Linked DNA regions of Homo sapiens: region 2 is linked to region 1. The links are contacts of gene promoters, found by promoter capture Hi-C in human tissues and cell types (Jung and others, 2019). All regions are on one chromosome and are shown on one strand. Each heading gives the region's core, a stretch centred on a gene start or on the middle of the fragment in contact. The rest is flanking DNA. Distances are from core to core; before and after follow the strand shown. Region 1 holds the start of AK4 (adenylate kinase 4). Region 2 overlaps PDE4B (phosphodiesterase 4B).

Evidence for each region. The method cuts DNA at HindIII sites, captures the fragments that hold promoters and counts their contacts. A contact is called where the count stands out against the background at its distance.
Region 2: a contact is called between a fragment that was not itself captured here and the fragment with the promoter of AK4 in region 1, in 2 of the 25 tissues and cell types used here (mesendoderm cells and thymus).

Annotation. Positions count from the first base shown.
Region 1 is chr1:65,146,058-65,152,794 of GRCh38, forward strand. It overlaps AK4 (adenylate kinase 4), which reads left to right and starts at 2,146. Exons shown (of 5, transcript NM_013410.4): 1 at 2,146-2,495. The coding sequence starts at 2,351. RefSeq lists silencers at 1,313-1,552, 1,563-2,062, 2,443-2,742, 2,803-3,082 and enhancers at 2,676-3,394, 3,395-4,113, 5,704-5,753. The HindIII fragment of the contact is 12,604 bases long and covers 1-6,737 here.
Region 2 is chr1:65,903,201-65,909,702 of GRCh38, forward strand. The region is part of intron 1 of PDE4B (phosphodiesterase 4B); the gene reads left to right. Among named protein-coding and RNA genes, the nearest start is that of PDE4B, 110 kb to the left of the region's middle. The HindIII fragment of the contact is 5,447 bases long and covers 1-4,263 here.

The DNA of each region.
Region 1 (6,737 bases), core at 896-3,395:
TTTATCATTTATTTGAGACAGAGTCTCGCCCTGTTTCCGAGGCTGGAGTGCAGTGGCGTGATCTCAGCTCACTGCAACCTCCACCTCCCAGGTTCAAGTGATTCTCTTGCCTCAGCCTCTGGAGTAGTTGGGATTACAGGCGTGCACCACCACACCTGGCTAATCATTCTATTTTTAGTAGAGACGGAGTTTCACCATGTTAGACAGGCTGGTCTCATACTCCTGGCCTCAAGTGATCCGTCTGCCTTGGCCTCCCAAAGTGCTGGGATTACGGGTGTGAGCCACAGCGCCCGGCCACACTGAGACATTTTAGAGGGAGATCAGTCTATGGAACAAATGCTGGCCTGGGGCTGGTGGCCTGGGTGTGCTGTCTGGCCAATTTTGTGCGTGGAGTAAGCAGTGGGGAGAGGCGCTGGGTGTCAGGAAACTATGCCAGGCCCTGCCCTCCACCAACCCCAATCAAAGAGCTGAGAGGGGGTTCTTCTCCACACCATCCCACTACTTGTGTCCCTCACCTTCTCTGAGTCCTGGGTATTGGTGCTGGGAACTCTGCAACAGATTTCCTGAAGGCAGGTGGCCTGTGGAAGGAAGGCAGAGGAGGGGGCCTGCAGAATGCAAAGGTGTACGGAAGGCATCTCTGCGCCCCTGCTGAAGATTTTTCACTTTATCCTGAAGGGAAGACAATATCTGAGGCCGGGAAATAATAAATATTGATTTTCACTTTATCAGTATTCCTGGCAGCTGCACGGAAAATGGAATGGCACAGAAACTGGAGTCTTATGGGCACTTATCCCACTAGTTGGGGTGGGAAATTAAAGGCTGTGTGTAAGGTGGGCACAGATCTAACAGAATGTGGATTGGGATATGCAGGGGAGGGTGGAGTGGGGGAAGACAGACTCCATTTGGACTTGGTGAGTTATAGGTGCAGCACCAGCATAATGCGCATGGAAGTCCTGGAATCATTTACCAAGAAGGTCCTGAACACAGGTGAGGGACATCCCCTTCTTCCCTGTTCCCTAAGGCGCCTAGACTTTGGAGTCAGTCAGTCTTGGGTTCCAGCCTCCCGCTAGGACGCAATTTCTTGAGAGCAGGATTCGATCTGTTGTTCACGGCTAGATCCTAAGCGCCTAGAATAGTTTCTGGCACACAGTAGGCACTCAATAAACATTTGCAGAATGAATCAATGAATGAATGGTCACGCTCCATTCCTCGGCTGTAAACACAATGAAATCACCTAGCCGCAAACTTGGCGCACAGTAGGCGCTCAACAAGTTGTATTTTTCCCTTCCCTTGCAGTAGACCGCGGTCCCCAGGCGACCGCGAAAGAAAAAAAGGGGTTTCTCTACCTCGCGTGGTCTGCACCTCGCTTCGCCCCCGCAGCCCTCGCTGGGTCGCAGGGAGCACGTGGGCCAGGCAGGCTGGGTGGGAGTGGAGTGGAGTGGAGGGGAGGGGGCGGCGGCCAGCGGCTCGCGCGGAGCCGGTCTCCCGGGCTTACGTAAGGCGCGAGTCCCGCGCGGCCGGCCGGGGCTCCGCGACTGGGCGGGCGGAGGCGGCGCCGCCCTGCAGGATCCGGGCTGGAAGCCTCTCGGAGTGCTGCCTCCAGCCAAGGTGTGTGTTTATTTGATTGCTTTTGGTGGCGAGGCGCGGGGCTCGGGCTCGTCGCGCGCCCCATGGCCGGGGAGCGCATCCGCCAACCCCGGGCGGAGGTGGGCCCCTCCGAGCGCGCGCGGGCGGCGGGCAGCGGCGGCAGCTGAGACTCCGGGGGATGTGACAGCCGCCGGGGAGGGGACGAGACGCAGACCACACGTTGCCCACGTGCGAGGACCGGGCAGGGGCTCAGCCCCTAGGCCGCCCGGTGCGTGGGGCGGCGGGGGCTGGCTTTGAGTCACCCCCGCTTGTGCCAGCTTCCCCGGCTCGGCGGAGACTGGCTTGGGGATGCCTGGCCGCCCGGCCCCCTTCTCGGACGCGGCGTGGGGAGCGAGCTGGAGTTAAGGATGAAGGTGGGACTGGCCGGGCCGACCTCTGACCCCTGGAGGCCGAGTCGGCAGGGCGGGGCACGGCGCGCTTCAGCAGCTTTGCGTGGGGGCGAGGAGGTGGAGGAGGGCGAGGAGGTGGAGAAGGGCGGGGAGGTGTAGCGTGGCGCTCAGTCCGCCTGCTACTCGGTCCCGGCGCTGGGCTGAGGGGAGGGGTTGTCTTAAAAGTCTCTCCTTCCCCCTGTAGGGGCGGCCGGCGAGTCCCAGTGAGAGCGGAGGGTGCCAGAGGTAGGGGGCCGAGAAACAAAGTTCCCGGGGCTTCCTCCGGGGCCGCGGTCGGGGCTGCGCGTTTGACCGCCCCCCTCCTCGCGAAGGCAATGGCTTCCAAACTCCTGCGCGCGGTCATCCTCGGGCCGCCCGGCTCGGGCAAGGGCACCGTGTGCCAGAGGATCGCCCAGAACTTTGGTCTCCAGCATCTCTCCAGCGGCCACTTCTTGCGGGAGAACATCAAGGCCAGCACCGGTGAGGGGCTGCGGGGACGAGGGCCGGGGGCGAGCCGCGTTGGGCTGGGGTGAGGCCCTGGAGGGACTGGGGCTCCCGGATCACGGCGCCCTTCCCCCGCCCGCGTGTGGTCGTGCAGGCTCGTACGTGCCGGGGCGCATGCAGCTGGCGGCCGCGCGGCTTAACCGCGCCTGGGGAGGAGGCCGAGGCTCCAGGGGCGGCCGGTGGGAGGTGCCCACGGCTCCTCTCCACCGCTCCTCCTGTCGCGAGGAATAGCCCGAGCCACCCGGCCGAGGGAACGAGAACTAGGCAGGGAAAACCCGGAGCTTCCGTCTCACGCTGCCCTCCTTAAGGCAGAGCCGTCCCCGTACCCCTTAGCCCTGGCCCCCTCCCCCGAGTCCCTAGAGAGCCGCGCGCCCCCTCCCGCGGGAGCCCAGAGGCGGAGCGCCGCCCACCTGTGGCAGTCGGGCGGGGCCGCGCGCCGGGGAACCTGTGGCGCCGGGGGGCTCGCAGCCTCGCGCCTCTCCAGCCCCTCCACGCAGCCTCGGGCCTCGGGGCAGAGCCCTGGGTGGCTTTGAAAGGCCTGTCTGTTCGTTGTCGCCTTCTAAGGTAAACTCTCCCCAGCAACTCCCCCCCCTCCCGAAGCCGCCGGGCCTGGCCGTCAGGAGACTCGGAGGAGACTCGTTCTGATAAATTACATTTTGTAATGCAGCTTTCCTGGAAATGGCTTCTTGAGCTGCCTCCCTTGGCATGAGATGCCTCCTTTGGCTGGCGTGGTGAACTTGGGGATATATAGATCGCCTGATTTCTTAGTCTGACGGGGTTGAGTGCGTCCCTTTCCCCCTCTCCTCCCACTCCACGTTCACACCAGTTCCGAAAGAATTGGCGTTAAAAGGCGAGAGGTAGCGGTTGTGCTGCTGCGAGGCTCTTAACCCTTCTGGGATGGAGATGCTGGTAATTAGCAACTCCTTTATGAAAAGTTGTTCTTCCCAGCAGGGGTCCTTTACTGTCGATGTACTTCTCAAGGATGTCCGGGCTGGTTATTGCCCATCATGGACTAATTATCCGGAGATCTGCATTTCAGAAGCACAGACTGGCTTGAAAAGGAAGGTGGAGGACAGTACCAGAAAACAAAAGGAAAGCTTAAAAGCAAGGAATTAAGAAGTATCTCCAGAATTGTATTCCTTATCTCTTAAGCAGATTGAAAAAGCGGACTTTTACAGGAAACTCTTCCCCCACCCCCATGTCTCAAAAGGAAGAATTATGTGTACCAGATTGCACTTGAGTTTTCTGTTGTGGGTATTGTTACCTCAAGTGCGCCTATTTTGATTTTAATACATTCACATGCATTTTATTCTTGAAATGCTGCGGTTTGAGGGGAGAGCGGCCTGAGGGGGAAGGCTGGCTCTCATCCTAATGGTTTTGTGTTTAGGTTGGGCTTCTTCATGGTAGGGGCATGGAGTCAGTGAAGGAAGACAGTGAGAAGAGATGAGCCCATTCCATAATTCTCTGTACCTGACTAGGAGACTTGTTTCCTTCTATGAGCCCATTCCATAATTCTCTGTACCTTACTTGGTGACTTGTTTCCTTCTGGAATGAAGGGCTTCACACTGTCCATCCTGGGACTGGACTCATAGCCCTTTCCATGTTTAAAGAGAGTGTGATGGGAAGTAGCTTATTTCTGCACTTTCTTAGGGGCTTTGAAAATTTTCCATTTGCTCTTTTCCCTTGTTCTCTCTTTCTCTCTCTCTCTCTTTTTTTTTTTTAACTTTCCTGTGTTCTAAATTTTAGTTTTCATTCTCTTTCAAATGCCTTCATTTCCTCCCCAGTGATCCTCCCTGGAGTGAGAAATGACTATGAAATGTTTAGATTTTCTTTTTTCTGTTGGGAATCAAGCAGCTTTTTGCATGAGCCAATTAAAAAAAAAACTTTATCAAAGAAAGAAGAAAAATAAAGGACAGCAATTTGTTTTGAAAGTGGCTTGTTTCTAGTGAACTTTCGGGTTATCGGATTATTTTTCCCTCTCAGAAGGTCTGAGAATCTTATAGGCTTACTGCCTGGTAAATAAAACATTCCTTTCCACGGTATTTATTTTTCTGTCTGTTACCTGCTGTTTGCTTTTAGCTGATTTCCTGGTGGGAAACACAACCACCCTTCTGTATGTACCCTTTATAATGGAAGGTTTGAAGGAGACGATGAAGCACAACAAAAACCCAGGAAATAGAACCGTGTAGGAATTTGAATTGGAAAGTAGCTCCGGCCATCTGCTCCAGCCTGGATTTGGGCACACTCTTGTCTACATGGCTTTCCTCCTCCTGCAGCCTGGTGAAAAGCTGCTCTTTCAGGAAAGGGCCATTCTGATGTCATTGCTTCTTGGAAGTCTTCCCTCACCTGCTCTGGCAGAATTCATCTCTTTCCTCTGCACATAACTTTTTTTTTTTGAGACGAGTCTCGTTCTGTCACCCACACCGGAGTTCAGTGGCGCTATCTCGGCTCGCTGCAACCTCTGCCTCCCGGGTTCAAGCGATTCTCTTGCTTCAGCCTCCCAAGTAGCTGGGATTACAGGCGTCTGCCACCACGCCCGGCTAATTTTTGTATTTTTCGTAGAGATAGGGTTTCACCATCTCTACGAAGGTTCGAGGTCAGGCTGGTCGCGAACTCGGGACCTTAGATGATCCACCCGTCTTGGCCTCCCAAAGTGCTGGGATTACAAATGTGAGCCACCGCACCTGACCTCCTCTCCTCTGCACATGTCTTATTGATTCTAATGTTGCAGTCATATATCATGCAGTGTAAAAATGCCTGTCTCACACCCAGTAAGATATCTGCTGAGTGGCTGCTGTGCGTCAATGTTCTAGGTGCTGGGGGCAATAGCATTAAGATAATCTTGTGCCTCTTTTATTATTATTTATAGATAGGGGTTTTGCTTTAGTGCCCAGGCTGGTCTCAAACTCTTGGCTCAGTCTCCCAAAATGTTGGGATTACAGGTGTGAGCCACTGCACCTGGCCCATTCTTGGGCCTTTTGTTCTTTCTGCCTATACCATTGTACAATTTCCACTCTGAAACTTGGAGGACAGGGATCAGGCAAAGTACCTAATGTATAAAAGGAGCTTACCGAGTCTGTATTAAAGGCCTGGGTCACAAATTCTAGACAGTACATCTTAGTCCAGAAGTCAAGCAACCTATAGCATAGAGACCATTTTGTTTAATTAGCTCTGATTTATGGTAAAAGTTTGTGCTTAATATGGATCTGAGATTAGCTTCATGGTAGCTGTCACCCATTGGCCCTTCCTACACTGCCTAGAGTGGTACAGGCTGAGGCTTATCAGATACCTCATTTGAAGAGTCACACCCATATCTTTGGCTCAGATTTTCTTTAGCACACTGCAAGAGTAAATAGAAGGGAGAGTTCTCTTAGATTGCCAGGAGTTGGGTCTTACCCTCTGTTGTAAGAAATATTAGCTTTTCTCTGTGTATGTATGGGTATGCACATGTATGTATGAGTATACACACACACACAGGGACTGGCACTCTATTGAGTGAGTCCTACTACAAACTCTGAACAAATTCTGATATTTAATGATAGATTCTTTTATTGGGTCATATCTAAAGGATATGCAAATCCTGTTTTAAAGGTTGGAGAAATAGTGGTATTTTTTAAAACCACATTATACTGGATCTACTATCTCAAGTGCAGGAAAACTGGCACATCTCCATTTGGAAGCATCTTGGAGTTAATTGAGATAAAAGATGTTAAGGAACAAACCTGTTTCTGCACTTGCTATCTCTCTCTCTCTCTCTCTCTCTCTCTCTCTCTCTCTCTCTCTCTATATATATATATATATATATATATTTTTTTTTTTTTTTTTTTTTTTTTTTTTTTTTTTTGAGCCGGAGTCTCACTCTGTCACCCAGGCCGGAGTGCAGTGGCACAGTCTCGGCTCACTGCAGCCTCCGCCTCCCAGGTTCAAGCGATTCTTCTGCCTCAGCCTCCCGAGTAGCTGGGACTACAGGCACACACCACCACGTGTGGCTATTTTTGTATTTTTGGTGGAGATGGGGTTTCACCATTTGGCCAGGCTGGTCTTGAACTCCTGACCTCATGATCTGCCTGCCTCGGCCTCCCAAAGTGCTGGGATTACAGGCGTGAGCCACCGCACCTGGCCTCTGCTTCTCAATATTAACTGCAGCTCTTGCTGGAGTTTTGCTGATGGGACTAGCATTTCAAGTTAGTCTATGGGCCCAGCCTCTTTTTGAAAAGA
Region 2 (6,502 bases), core at 290-2,789, 760 kb after region 1:
ATAGTTAAAAATTAGATGTTGTAGCTGCTAAGTCTCTTTGTCCTCTAATATTTGTTCCTTCTGGCCTCTCATTTCCTGCATATCAAATGTATTAGGTGCTTGTCAAATTTCATGGATGAGTCCATTCTTAGGGCAAAGCTTAATTTCTCATCTTTAAAAATAAATATAGCCTGGGCAATATGGCGAAACCCATCTCTACAAAATATGCACACACACATGCACACACACACACACACACACACACTAGCCAGGTGTGGGAGTGTGCATCTGTAGTCCCTGCTCATTTGAGAGGCTGATGTCGGAGAATCTGTTGAGCCCACGAGGTTGAGGCTGCAGTGAGCCATGGTCGTGCCTGGGCAATAGAGCAAGAGCCTGTCTCAAAATAATTTTTAAAAAATTTAAAAAAACAAAAATAAATAAGGAAATGATAGTTTCTAAATATGAAGACACTTAAAGACCAATAAAAATGTATTTCTATGTTCCTTTATGTTCTATCAAAACAATATTATGTGGCATTCTAGTATTACCACATGAGTTTCAGCCTTCTGCTTTTGAAATTGTTTCTGTTTACATGCTTATTTTTCGTATGTCCACATAGACCTGAATCCCCTGACATTTTAATAGAGCTGGGACAGACAGGCCCAAATTGGATGTTGCTTCTAGGTAGGGAATCACTGGCAGACTTCATATCCAATTATATTTCAGTTAAGCCAGTAAATATTAGGCCATTAATTCATTTGAAGTCCTGGAAAGATTTCTCACATTTTTGTTATCTTCCTCTTATGAAGTCTGTAATGATGTAGTATTTATATTTCTGAGAAAGGAATGCACAGAAATTTTGTGTGCTTGCTTGCTTAAAACAAGAATGAACTATTGCCCTTTGTTGTTTCAGTGGTCTTCCCAAGAAAGGAAAAAAAGTTACTTGATGAAGAGTGTCTGGGGTCTTTGAGTCTACATAGAAGACTTACACCAAATTACTGTCTGTGTCCCATATACCCCATGAAACATGTTTGAACAGCACTGTACAGGTGGACAATTTTTTGAAGTCTAGAGACATAGCACTTGTGAATGAATGTCATGAGTCTTCTGTATTAACTTAAAAAAAATTTAGTATTGGATCAAAGTCTAATTTAGAAGAAAAAATACTTGGTGAATTCTTGTTGAAACATAAGATAAAACAGAGACAAATTATTATGCTTTTTAAGTTATGTTTTAGATATACAGTTTTATACACACAATTTACGTTTTCCAATTTAATGTAAATTCCTATGAGATTACATGAAAGAGTAGCTGTTCATAGGCTCCATATGTTCTGCCAACTGCATATCTCTCCTTTATGTTTCATCATTAAAAAAATCTTCTGATTCCTTTCTTGTTCTGAAATACTACTTTTATTCCCAATTATCCTGTTTCTTGGCCCTGACCCATCCTATTTGCTGCTTGTTCTCTGATAAACAATGCTTATTTGCTGCTTCCAAGTGGCAGCAGACGTAATGGTTAATTTCATGAGCTCTGCAGGCATAGTGCCTGGGTGTGAATCCTGTCTCTCTGCCTTTTCCTAGATTAGTGAGCTTAGATGAGTCATTCACCCTTTCTGGGCCTCAGAATTCTCCCCTGCAAAATGGAGATAAAAATAGTTGTGAGAATTACATGAGATGATAGATTTAGGGACTATAGAATAGTGCCTGCCATAAAGTTATTCATATCTCTGTCAGAAGAGTAGGAATATGTATCCTGTCAATATAGCTGACATTTGCAGTTTACCAGGCATTCTGATTCTATTTCCTGCCCCCTCCTATCTGCTGCTTTTGGATTATCACACTTTCAGGGAATCTAGCAAGAGGCCTCAAGCCTATCTAGTCTACTCATTCAAACATTTTCCAGCAAATATTTATTGCTTGGCACAAGAGATATAGTGGTTGGCAGTATTCTCTATGAGCTTCTGGGAGGCATAAACCTATTCATTCATACAAACAAATATGTAATTGTGAAAAATACTGTGAATAGAAAAATAATGTGATAATACCTTCTTACAGGTAGGGGAAGTCCATAAAGGCTTTTCTGAACAAATGACATCAAAGCTGAAGGCTGAAGAATGGGTTAGCCCGGCAAAGTTGAAGACATGTTATAGTGTAGGAAAAGTTTGGAGACAAGAAGGGCATGCTGGATACACTCTACATCCAGTCGAACTAAAGCTAAATGAGTTACAGGGGAGAGTGATGTGGCATAAGCATAAGGTGGGGAAGCAAGTGGAAGCAAAAATAGGAAGTTGAGGTTTAAAAGTCAAGCAGGGACCAGATCTGTAGGGACTTGTATGATTAATCTTCATATTAAGGGTTTTGCTTTATCCTAAAAATTACAGAAAGCATGAAGAATGCAAAGCTGGGGATTAATATAAGGAATTTTGCATTTTTAAAAGATCACACTGGAGAATAGAGAGAGGGGGAGTGGAAGGGCTTCTCTCTTTGTTTCTTAGTTACAATACCTGGAAAAGGACAGTAGCCTCCTCAATGAAGCTTTCCTTGATAACATTTTGCCCATAGAGGTGGCTTCACTCATTTTTTCACCTAATGAACCCATGATCTGTTGCACTTCTCACACTGCACTGTGAACCTGACCCAGGCCAAGGTGTTCAGTATTGTAGGATGAATAAGCGTTGATTCTCCTCTCCTAAGATGAGACAGGGGCATTTTAAGGCCAAGGACTATGTATATTCGTCTTTGTATTATCCACGGCATCTAGCAAGTCCCTACCACATGTTGGGCTCTCAATCTTTTGTTGATGTTGTTGTTGAGAAATCAGATGAAAAGAAGTGGTTTTTCATGATGGATGGAAATGGGGGTTTTGGATCATGGATGCAATTTAATTTTTTATACTCTCATTGAAAGTTGGTAATATTAATTGAAATCCTAGAGTGGCTGTTTGATAAATACCTTTGAGGGTAGCATTAGAAGATCTAAATTTGAGCATGAGCAGATGCCCAGCAAATATTAAATGAATTGAATGTGTTTCAGCCATACTTGCCTATTACATCTGTTTGTAGATCTTCTGTGGTTTATTTTAGGAGACGGAAAAAATTCTCTAATCCATCCTAAACCTCCACTAATGCCATCTTCACTTTGGCACAGTGATAACTCAGAGATGAAAACTCTCAGGTGTGGAGAGAGCTTGCAATACCAGGTTATTAATAGATTTGAATACAGGGATTTTTTTGTTCTTTTCCTTTTGTTTAAGATGAAACAAAAAATGGCTGAAATGAAAGTGATTTATATGCCTCTTTATGGTATTTTAAACCATAAGAGATTAATCAGTGATTACTTTTTTTTAGACTAGGAAAAATAATTCAACTCTTTAAAACTTACCCACTTAGTATATACTGCAGGGAAATTCACTAACAAATTCATTGAGGCATTATTTACACAAGCAGAAACATGGGGTTAGTTTGTCACTTTCTCTCTGTTGTGTTATTGTTGAACATTAGCATTCAGCTCAGCAAATTGAATATTAAGAATTCTTTCTTTTTTTGTCACCATGTGTATTGATTTCAAATGCATGCCCTATTAGTAATTTACAAAGAATGTATTTTATAGTAGAAATTGGTTTAAGTGGTTGTTCAGGAGACATGTTTTACTCAAAGCAGCATTTAGCCTGGCTACTTTGCCTTTTGATGATTATTTAAAAGGATGCCATTATGTCTTTGTTACTTATTGTTCTCTCAGGATAAGCTAATGGTTTAAGTTCATATTAATCCCTAGCACTTTTCAGTTTTTATCTCAAAAGTCATTGATACTTATTACTTAATTGAAAAAACTGATTCTTCTCTCCAAGCAATGTTTGTGTCTAAATATTGAGCAACTTTACAAATAAAATGACCTTTCTTATTACATATACTTTTTTCCCCTCAAATTTACTTGCTCTTTATTTTTTGCATCATACAACTTCAAAAATTTTGGGGAGGAAGCACATTTGCCTCTGTTTATCTCCATCATATTAAAATAAGAAAGCAGCAATAACTGAGTGCAGTAGTCCTGAATTTCTGAAAGTGTGAAGAGAGCAGTAGATGCAAATTAAGGGGGAAAGTCTAATATTTTATGTATCAAATTCTGATATGTTTATCTAATTGTTGAGTCTTTAGAGTTGTTTTTTATAGTTTGTGTTTATTTCTGCTAGTTTTCTGGAATTTCATTAGTTTCATAAAGTTTACGGATGATTATACTCCAATCCCTTTATTTGACAATTGAGGAAACCGAAGTCCCAGAGCTAAGTGGATAACTAGAGCTAGGTGGATGTCGGGGCTGGGAGTGGAGACAGCAGTTCAGGCTCTGCTTTATCCGGCATGTCTTCCTTCAGTTCATAGTACAGTACATGCTAGCACAAACCAGAAAACCTTCTTTTTCTTGAACTAAACCTTGATGTTAGTTTTAAAAGTCAAGATCCCATGGTCTAGTTTTGAGGTTCTTAGACGTTTATACTTTATGAATTGATAAAATTTCCAAAGAATTAGGAGACTTACGTAGAATTGCCAATTTTTAGTTTTCTCAGTTCAGAACATTAAGAAACAAAGCAAAAATACACCAATGCCTCATTATATTATTGTCATTTCATAAATGGACATTTTCTCATCTAAAAGGAGATGAGTAGGACTTTTCCTGTTAAGCTAGAAAGGGCAACTGTAACCCAAAACAGTGAACTAAAAGCCATCAAACTATTTCACGTTCTGTAAGGATAGACATACACAAGGGTGGTCTCGTACCTCGCTCTGAGGCAGAGGCAGCCAGATGGGTTCTGATTCTAATCCTCATCCTGGCAACCTCTGAACTCTCATATACATAGACTCTAGGTGGGGAGAGGAGGTGTTGGAGAAGTGCGTTATTGGCCTACTGAAAATGAAGAACCATTTCTAGAGACAAGTGCCTTCAACAAAGGACAGGTTAACTTCTGTATCCCTTAGGCTCCAGTTAGGAAAACAAAAGGATTTAATACAAGCAATTTGTCAATTCTCCTGGAAGAATAAAGAGGGTCTCCTCTCTCCAAGTCTCTTCTAGTCTCCTACCAGTGATTTCCATTGTCAGCACCTAAAGGAAGCCACCTAGAAAGAGAATCTGTTAAATATAGTTTGCGATGTAGTCTGCAATGTAGTTTGATTCACATAGCAGAATTTAGAATGATTGGCTTGGGGCTGAAAGACATTGGTAAATAACTGACAGTATCTCTTCTCTCCATTGATCACTTATGGAGAAGGATTTTGTGCTTTTTTGAGAAGGAGAAAGAGAAGTGGAGAGATATAGCAAGGAACAGAGAAGAAATAGCAGCAAAGCAGCCTATACATTTAGGTGTATCTATACATTTAGTATACATACATTTAGTGATATATATATTTAGTGTGACAAGGATGCTTGAGCTTATTCTGGATCAAGTGGACATTGCAGCTTGAGCCATCATGTCATTATTCCAATCAAGAGAGTAGACTATCGGGCAAGGGGACCTTACCAACAGGAGTTTCAATGTGTGCCAGTGGGGGTGGAACTGAAGTTACTTCTCCCCAGTGTGAAAGCTCCTACTGCCCCGTTACAGGAAGGGCCTCATCTCAACACCTTCCTTAGAGAAGGCGTCAAAGTAAGTCTGATTTTACCAGAGAAGCAGAGACACTCAAAAAGGACTGCAATTAAATGCTTAGTTAAGTAAGAAGACTTTTCCCTCTTGTCATTAGTTCTTCTACTCTGCCACAATATAGAAAGAGTTAGAACCTGAAGATAAAAATAGAGAGGAAGAATAAAAGAGTAGTACATTCTTTCTTCCCACTCCAAGTCCCAGACACTGGCCACTGAATTAAAACAGTTATACGATGGGAGTTATGGAAGCAATCTGAACTGTTGTTAAGGAGGAGAGAATAGATTTGATATTGCATATGGAAAACAGTTATTGGAGAAAAATGAAGACTAGTTCATATCTGTGCTCTACTGAGTTCAGAATGTTCAATAAATCAGTTACATAAGAAATAGAATGAAAGCTTTTTGAACATCATCTGCAAAATAAAAGATATTTTTTAAATTGGAAAAAAAGTAGTATTTTTAAACTCAAAATATTACTTTTGTTTTTCTCATTTCTGCATGGTTTTGTCTAGCATGTGTCCATGATATAGAATTTTAAAATAATTATCACTATTCACTGAAATTCCTTTTAGCCAGGTATCACTAGTACTGATAACTCTAACCTGTGAAAGGTGAAATTCACACATTAACACAGAAGTCAGGGTCCTTTTCCTCATTTTAGCCTTTAAATATCTGTGGAGAAAGGGGAAAGAGGAAAAGGTGCAATTATATAAAGAATATTCTAGTGTGAATAAAACAGAACGTTATGAAGGACTAATATAAATTTAAAAGCATCTTTTAAGTGGTGAAATATAAAACCACAGGGAAAACTATTAAACATATATCAGAAATGGAATCTGTCATCACATTTGTCACCTTGGAAATTTTTAGAAAGACTTTGTTTTAATGAA